Regions from separate parts of the Homo sapiens genome. Here region 2 is linked to region 1. The links are contacts of gene promoters, found by promoter capture Hi-C in blood cells and fetal thymus (Javierre and others, 2016). All regions are on one chromosome and are shown on one strand. The core of a region is centred on a gene start or on the middle of the fragment in contact, and the rest is flanking DNA. Distances in the headings are between cores, read along the strand shown.

Region 1 (4,467 bases), core at 1,304-3,803:
GACGATGTTTGCAGATTTTAAGAGGAAGTTTTTTTTTTTTTTGAGACAGAGTCTCGCTCTGTCACCCAGGCTACTGGAGTGCAATGGCGTTATCTTGGCTCACTGCAACCTCTGTCTCCCGGGTTCAAGCGATTCTCCGCCTCAGCCTCCTGAGTAGCTGGGATTACAGGCACCCGCCATCATGCCCGGCTAATTTTTGTATTTTTGTAGAGATGGGGTTTCACCATGTTGGCCAGGCTAGTCTTGAACTCCTGACCTCAGGTGATCCGCCCGCCTCGGCCTCCCAAAGTGCTGGGATCACGGGGATGAGCCATCGCACCTGGCCAAGAGGAAGTATTTTTTTTTTCTATCCTGCTCTTTCTGAAAAGCTTGAACATTTTTCTGTACTTTCCTTTTCTTTTTTGAGACAGGGTCTTGCTCTATCACCCAGAATGGAGCACAGGGGTACAATCATGGCTCACTGCAGCCTTCACCTCCCGGGCTCAAGCAATCCTCTCACCTCACCCTCCCAAGTAGCTGGAACTACACACAGGCGCCACCACATCCATCTAATTTTTAAAATATTCTGTAGAGACAGGGTCTCACTATGTTGCCCAGGCTGGTCTCAAACTTCTGGGCTGAAGCAATCCTCCCACTTCAGCCTCCTGAGTGGCTGGGACTACAGGCACATGCTATCATGTCTGGCTAACTTTGTTTTTTATAGAGACAGGGTCTTTTGCTGTATTTCCCAGGGCGGTCTTGAACTCCTGGCTTCAAGTGATCTTCCTGCCTTGGCCTCCCAAAGCACTGGGATTATGGCCATGAGCCACCACGTAATCTTTGTTTTATGCGTATTTATAAGCTTTGCTTCCCCAACAAGATTATAAGCTCTTTGATTGAAGTACATCATATATTTGATATGTATTCTCTTGTCCAAGTGTTTCTGTAGGCAATAAGGGGAACTTTGTAAAACAAGAGTTTTCCGGTCAAGTAAATTTGAGAAGCGCTGCCTAATCTCTTCCCCCTCAGAGATTTGCAATGCATATTGACCTATTAAAGGCTCTGAGAATTCTTCCTGCGAAGAAACCTATTTTAGCCTTGTCCACCTTGCATTTCCCAAACACGTTTGACCTCAGAACTCCCTTTTTCACTAAGAATGTTTTGCCCATCTTATGTTTTACCCATGTGCTCTATAGCAGTTAACACTGGGCTTATTAAAGGTACTCAATATGTGATTGTAAATTAACTGGTGAAGCATTCCCTCATTCTTGTTTATTTTATACATTTATTTAATGAAGCCCTTTTCATAGAAATTGTCAAGATAAATGTATCCTCATTTAGATCAAAACAAATTCTAAATTAATGAAGTCATGACATTTTACTGTATTTTGGTTTTTTTGGTTTATCTGTGAAGTCCTCAAACCTGTGAGTAGTGCTGACCCTAGCCTTGAATGAACAGCCCTGTACTAACTGCAAGGCCAGAAGAACCCCTGCCCTTCCCCTCCCCACCCCCCCACATCATTTCCAGAAGTTCTAAAGAACAGTTGAAATTTACGGAGATCAGACTGGGTTGAGTGTGGGATTTCCAGGGTGGGTTCTAGAAGGAGAAGTGGGTCTTCTGTAGTTTGTTGAAATTTTATTTTCCAAACCCAGCCCCCAAGTTTTTCTTCCTCTATTTATGTGCAAGGACAAAACAGTTACTGTCCTACCTACATAGGATATGGACTCTGTCTGCTCTGAGCCCATTTTAGTTTAGAATATAGAGACCTCCCTCCAGGTCCTAAGAGAGAGATTCCATGAGAGATGTGCAACACCATAAGGTTGGTGATTTGTACTTTGAAATGGCTGCCTTTATTTCCTTTAAAGTCAATATCTTATATTTGAATAAACACAGTTTGCAAAGCATCTTTACAGAAATCTCATTGGATCCTCACGGTCACCTTTTTTCTGAGACAGAGTCTCACTCTTTCACCCAGGCTGGAGTGCAGTGGAGCGATCTTGGCTCCTCCACTTCCTGGGCTCGAGTGATCCTCCTTCCTTAGCCTCCCAAGTAGCTGGGACCACAGATGCGTGCCACCATGCCCAGCCAATTTTTGTATTTTTGGTAGAGATGGGGTTTCGCCATGTTGCCCAGGCTGGTCTCAAACTCTGCAGCTCAAGCAATCCACCCGCCTTGGCCTCCCAAAGTGCTGGGATTACAGGTATGAGCCACTGTACCCTGCCCTCACAGTCACCTTTTGAAGAACCTCCTGCTCAAGAGATCCTCCTGCCTCAGCCTCCTGAGTAGCTGTGATGACTACAGGCTTGTACTACCATGCCTGGCTAGTTTTTTTATTTTTTGTAGAGACGGGGTTCCCTGTGATGCCCAGGGTGGTCTCAAACTCCTGAGCTCAAGCCATCCTCCCACCTCAGCCTCCCAAAGTGCTGGGATTGTAGGTGTGAGCCACTGCACCTGGCCAAGCATTAGTTTTAATCTTGTTTTATAGATGAATAAACTGGGGCTGACTCAAACTGACTCAAAGTCACACTGTCATTACCTTTTTGATCCTGTACGTTAGACTGGGCTGTATGCATGTTCTTGCTGGCGCAATAAAGTTGCAAGTGCCAGCTAACAGCCCTTCCCACTCCACCTCACCACCTCATAGAGGAAAATTGTGACGTTAATGGGAAATGTCAGCGGTAATGTCTTCAGGCTGGGCCTGTGGAGTGACTCCCTTGCCACAGGATATTTAAGCAATGCTGTGTCTTGTCTGAGGCTCAGACCTGCTATTCTTATTGGCACTTGGGACCTGCATGGTTTTTGGCTTCACCTCCAGCTTTAGCCATTTTTCTTCTGTTCTTTTAGGTAAGGATTTTCTGCCCCAGACCTCAGATTCCCATTTCCTTCCTAGCTTCTCTGCTGTTATAGCTCAGTCTCTTCCAAGACCATGCAAGATTCAGACCCTAGTAGGAGGAGATGGAGGAACTAGGACTTAAACCCACATCTTGTGATTCCAAGGCTGGTTCCTCTTTTGCCCTGCACCACACAGCTGTCTGCTCACAGTCATGTGACAGGGGCTTCCCCAGCCAGAACCTCCAGGGAGCACAAATAAAGGAAAGAGCTGGAAGGCACAGTACAGCATTTGTTCTGTCCAAGCCTTACATATCAGCATGGGCAGGGAGAATGTGGTGAAGTTTTCTTTCAAGGACTTTGTTTGATAAGGAAGGACATTTATCAGTGAAGAGAGGTTTTGAGGGAAGTGAACCAATCTTGAGATAAGTACACAAAAGAGCTTTGAGTCTGGTGTTTCCCTGTTTGCTTCTGCCCCCTGGAGGAGCAAATACTCCATGATTAGAGACGTGTGAGTCCTTTGGAATAGAATAGCAGTGATGGAACTGGAGTCCTAGTCCAGGTTCTCTCCTTGTTCAGCCTGGATTCAGCACTGGGTATCGAAACAAGCCTGCACCCTCAGAGGAGATGGCTAGGGGACAGTGCGTCCAGGCCTCTTCTACCACACAGAGTTTTCTTTTTTTTATAAAGGGTATACACATTTAAAATTTAATGATACTCCCAAATTGCTCTTCAAAAAGGCTGTGCAAAATTACAGTCCTGATAACAGCTACCCAGAGATCCTGTAACGGCATTTGCCCTCATCATTATTATTATTATTATTATTATTATTATTATTATTTGAATTTGAGACGGAGTTCTGCTCTGTTGCCCAGGCTGGAGTGCAGTGGCGCAATCTTGGCTCACTGCAACCTCTGCCTCCCGGGTTCAAGCAATTCTCCTGTCTCAGCCTCCCTAGTAGCTGGGATTACAGGTGAGCACCACCACGCCTGGCTAATTTTTGTATTTTTAGTAGAGACGGGGTTTCACCATATTGGCCAGACTGGTCTCGAACTCCTGACCTCAGGTGATCTGCCCGTCTCGGCCTCCCAAAGTGCTAGGATTACAGATGTGAGCCACTGGGGCTGGTTGCCCTCACTATTTAATGGGTTATTTGCAACCTGTGAATCATGTCTCCTATTTCCTTGTTAATGATGCTTATTGATTATAGACTTAGGAATATCAGCACCTCCTTTGTAGCTCTTCATTCTTACATGATATAATAATTAATTTTTTTTTTTGAGACAGAGTCTCACTCTGTTGCCCAGGCTGGAGTGCAGTGTCACAATGTTGGCTCACTGCAACCTCCACCTCCTGGGTTCAAGCGATTCTCCTGCCTCAGCCTCCTGAGTAGCTGGGACTACAGGTGCGTGCCACTACACCTGACTAATTTTTGTATTTTTAGTAGAGACAGGGTTTCGCCATGTTGGCTAGGCTGGTCTTGAACTCCTGACCTCAGGTAATCTGCCCGCCTCAGCCTCCCAAAGTGCTGGGATTACAGGTGAGCCACTGCGCCCAGCCAATAATTCATTGTTTAATCCTTAGTTGTGGGCCAAGCAAAGGAGAAAAGTAAGAAGCCTTTTCCTTTTACCGATAGGAAAGGTCAAAGGACTTACCTG
Region 2 (4,484 bases), core at 93-2,592, 51 kb before region 1:
TGGATATGGTGTTTTTGACTAATATTTGCACAGAAATTGTTCATATTTCTGCCCCCCCAAAAAAACCTCAAGATAAGATTTTTAAGGAAAATTATGTGCATGAAAAGTCTTACATTGTATCCCAAATACAATTGGGGGAATACAGAATCATGTGTAGATATTTTTCCAACTTTTTATTTTCAAACCTGAAAACCAGGCCGGGTGTGGTGGCTCACGCCTATAATCCCAGAACTTTGGGAAGCCTAGGTGAGTAGATCACATGAGGCCAGGAGTTCGAGACCAGCCTGGCCAACATGGCAAAATCTTGTCTTTACTAAAAATACAAAAATTAGCTGGGCATGGTAGCACACACCTGTAGTCCCAGCTACTCGGAAGGCTGAGGCATGAGAATTGCTTGAACCCGGGAGATGGAGGTTGCAGTCAGCTGAGATCGTGCCAATGCATTGCAACCTGGGTGACAGAGAGAGACTTTGTCTCAAACAAAACAAAACCTGAAAACCAGAAAATTTAAAGAATACACATATACCCTTTACCTACAGACACCAATTGTTAACATTTAGCCACATTTACTTTATCTCTCTCTCTAGACACACACATACACACACACTTTGCTGAATCATTGACAGTAATGTGCAGACATCATGATACTTTACCCCTAGATTCTTCAGTGTGTGTTTTCTATGAACAAAGACATTCTCCTACATGATCACAATATCACTATCATACCTGCAATAGACTGAATGTTTCCCCCTGAAACTCATATGTTGAAACCTAATCCCCAGTGTGATGGCATTTGGAGGTGAGGCCTTTGGGAGATGAAAAGGTCATGAGGGTGGAACCCTCATGAATGGGATTAGTGCCCTTATAAAAGAGATCATAGAGAGCTCCCTTGCCCCTTCTACCATATGAGGGCACAGTGAGAAGATGACCACATCTATAAGCCAGAAGGCAGGCCCTCACCAGACTCTGAATCTGCCAGTGATCTTGGATTTCCCAGCTCCAGAAGTGTTAGAAATAAATTTCTGTTGTTTATAAGCTACCTAGTCTATGGTATTTTATCATATCAGCCCAAATGAATTAAGACAATACCCATGAAATTTAACATACACAATAGTGTCTAATGTACAGGCTATACCAAAATTTCCATTTCCCTGTAACTGACATTTATCCTCTTATCTCCAAAATAACTCTTCTCTGCCAGGCGTGGTGGCTCATGCCTGTAATCCCAGCACTTTGGGAGGCCGAGGCGGGTGGATCACCTGAGGTCAGGAGTTCGAGACCAGCCAGGCCAACATGGTGAAACTCCATCTCTACTAAAAATACAAAAAATTAGCCAGCGTGGTGGCAGGTGCCTGTAATCCCAGCTACTTGGGCGTCTGAGGCAGAAGAAACACTTGAACCCGGGAGGTGGAGGTTGCAGTGACCTGAGTCTGTGCCACTGCACTCCAGCCTGGGCAACAAGAGTGAAACTCCATCTCAAAAACAAAAACAAAACCCTCTTCTTCCTTTTATGCCCCCAACAGTTATGGGCCCTCCCCAAAGCTAAACCAATGCTCTCACCAAAGCAAAGCATGCCCAGTTCTTCATAGCCTTGATCTACCATCACTACACATATTATTCCATTTATTCCTTATACAAGAAGGTATTATCTCTATTATCTCATTTATTCCTTAAACAAGAAGGTATTCACTATCTCTATTATAAGAAAAATTAGGTTCAGAGAGATTCATTAACTTGGCTACAGTCACACAGATATTTATTAAGTCTCAGAGTCAAAATTTGAACTCAGATCTCTGACTTCACAGCCCATGTTCTTTCTGCTACGCCACACTGTCTACTGTATCAAATCTATATTACTTTTTTTTTTTTTTTCTGAGACAGGGACTCACTCTGTCTTTCAGGCTGGAGTGTAGTGGTGCAATCACAGCTCACTGTAGCCTCGACCTTCCAAGCTCAGGCCATCTTCCCAGCTCAGCCTCTTGAGTAGCTGGGACGACAGGCTCATGCCACTATGCCCAGCAAATCTATATTACTCTGACTAATGGAGATCGCAAGGCTTTTGTTTTATCTAAATGAGACCTCCATTTATTACTTACACAGTGATTAATAAGCATACAAGTTTTAGTGTTTTCTCTGTTAATTCTTAGTAGTCTACATTCTAGGATCTCTTTGAGGGCACAGCTAGTTTTGTTCTTAGAGACACCCTCAGCACCTAGAATGATGCCAGACACTTAGTAGGTATTCAGTGAATGTCTACTGGATAAATGCATGAATTAGACTAAGTACACATAGACTCAAAATAAATATACAAAGTATGTTTTCAAGCTGATTTTCTAACCCAGCAAGGGCTGTAAACATTCATTGTAAGAAGTTGATCAAACAGGAATTTACTCTGCTGCACTTTTTTTTTTTTTCTGAGACAGGGTCTCATTGTGTTGCCCAGGCAGGAGTGCAGTGGTGCAATCATGGCTCACCACAGCCCCAACCTCCCAGGCGGGCTCAGGTGATCCTCCCACCTCAGCCTCCCAAGTAGCTGGAACCACACGCTCAAGCCACCACATCTGGCTAATTTTTGTAATTTTTGTAGAGACAAAGTCTCACCATTTTGCCCAGGCTATTCTGCTGCATTTTTAACATTTTCAACAATAATTCCTTCATTTAGACCACCATCTCCTCTCACTCAATCTTACCATTACACCTTTGCTCAATTTTCAGACCCAGCATTAATCTCAAATCCTCCTTCTGCAATTCCAGCTTGAAATCTTCCTTTTGTTCTCATCTTTAACCTATAAGCAACATTTTTATTATACATTATATTTTACATTGTTCTTATTGCAGAATTTATCATTATTATGCATAAATAATAATCAAAGGCAATATTTTCCCAGTTATTTGGTATCATTTAAGTGAATCTTCCAGATTACTCAACTCTATAAGAATTAAACCTTTTAAAACATTTGCATCATCTTTCACAAAAAGCCTTCTAAAATGCATTAAATATTTTTCTCCCTCTTAAAACAGCATGAACAGAACATTCTTTAACCTTTTTCTGACTCAAGCTCTGACCGAAAGCATCTGTTACTGCACTGGTCCATGGCAGAGAGATGCCATGACAGAAAATGATTTTTCTGTCACTTTCATCACATATTATTTTGCTTCATTCATCACCAGCTGCCACTTCTTATTCCTGATCCAGCTCTGGAAGCTCCTAATTCTCAGCTCATTATAACGTAGGAAACCAGCCAAATGAACTTGTTAACATTTGTGATGAAAATAACTAGACCCCAAGGATCTTACAAACAAACTGAGTTAGTTTAGTGACACCTTTTTTGTACACTCAAATGCCTTTTTTTTTTTTTTTTGAGATGGAGTCTTGCTCTTGTTGCCCAGGCTAGATTGCAATGGCGCGATCTTGGCTCACTGAAATCTCTGCCTCCTGGGTTCAAGCGATTTTCCTGCCTCAGCCTCCCGAGTAGCAGGGATTAAAGGCACATGCCACCATGCCTGGCTAATTTTTTATATTTTTAGTAGAGAAAGGGGTTCACCATGCTGGCCAGGCTGGTCTCGAACTCCCAACCTTAGGTGATCTGCCTGTCTCAGCCTCCCAAAGTGCTGTGATTACAGGCGCCTCTTTTCCTTAATAATCCCTAATTCTTGGCTAGGTTGTTGGGTAAAAGTTATTTCCTGATAAACAAGGCGTTACCTTATATATATTATCAATAAAATTATATGTATAAATACATGGAAATGCACGCATAGTATTGCATTATTCAATAAGAGTTTTACAGCTGAATATCCCTCTTAGGAATTCCTTGAGGACAAAGACTCTATTTCTTTTTTTTCTTTTTCTTTTTTTTTTTGAGCCTGTCTCCCAGGCTGGAGTACAGTGGTGTGATCTTAACTCACTGCAACCTCCACCTCCCAGGTTCAAGCAATTCTTCTGCCGCAGCCTCCAGAGTAGCTGGGAATACAGGCATGCACCACCATGTTTGGCTAATTTTTCTATTTTTAGTAGATGGTTTCGCCATGTTGGCTAGGCTGATCTCAAATTCCTGACCTGAAGTGATCCGTCTGCCTTGGCCTCCCATAGTGCTGGGATTACAGTTGTGAGCCACTGTGCCTGGCCTCTATTTCTTTTATGTAGTACCTGGCACATAGTAGGAGCTCAAAAATGTTTGCCAATGAATGGATATTATAGCGTAGCCTTCTGGTGTGACAGAAATTATTTTTAAAATTTATTTGCTAGATTATGCAACAAAGCAAGACCCTTTCTCTACAAAAATTAAAAGTATTAGCCAAACACGGTGGCACATCCCTGTAGTCCCAGGTACTCAGAAGGCTGAGACAGGAGGATTGCTTGAGGCCAGAAGTTTGAGGCTGCAGTGAGGTATGATCATGCCACTGCACTCCAGCTTGGGGGTGACACTGTGAGACTCCATCTCTGAAAAATAATAAAAAAAAAATGGCCGGGCACAGTGGCTCAC

What was found. Contacts are between HindIII fragments. The CHiCAGO score rates a contact against its expected background, and 5 or more counts as called.
Region 2: a fragment that was not itself captured here is called in contact with the fragment with the promoter of CFLAR-AS1 in region 1 in 6 of 17 cell types (neutrophils, megakaryocytes, activated CD4 T cells and 3 more); the score reaches 7.3 in neutrophils.

What each region holds. Positions count from the first base shown.
Region 1 is chr2:201,155,239-201,159,705 of GRCh38, forward strand. It overlaps CFLAR-AS1 (CFLAR antisense RNA 1), which reads right to left and starts at 2,554. Exons shown (of 7, transcript NR_040030.1): 1 at 2,517-2,554. All of the region lies in intron 8 of CFLAR (CASP8 and FADD like apoptosis regulator), which reads left to right. RefSeq lists enhancers at 2,853-2,932, 2,953-3,282. The HindIII fragment of the contact is 4,248 bases long and covers 840-4,467 here.
Region 2 is chr2:201,105,354-201,109,837 of GRCh38, forward strand. It overlaps LOC105373836 (a long non-coding RNA gene), which reads right to left. Exons shown (of 3, transcript XR_923785.3): 2 at 2,691-2,786; 3 at 151-450. Among named protein-coding and RNA genes, the nearest start is that of CFLAR, 8.6 kb to the right of the region's middle. The HindIII fragment of the contact is 7,388 bases long and covers 1-4,484 here.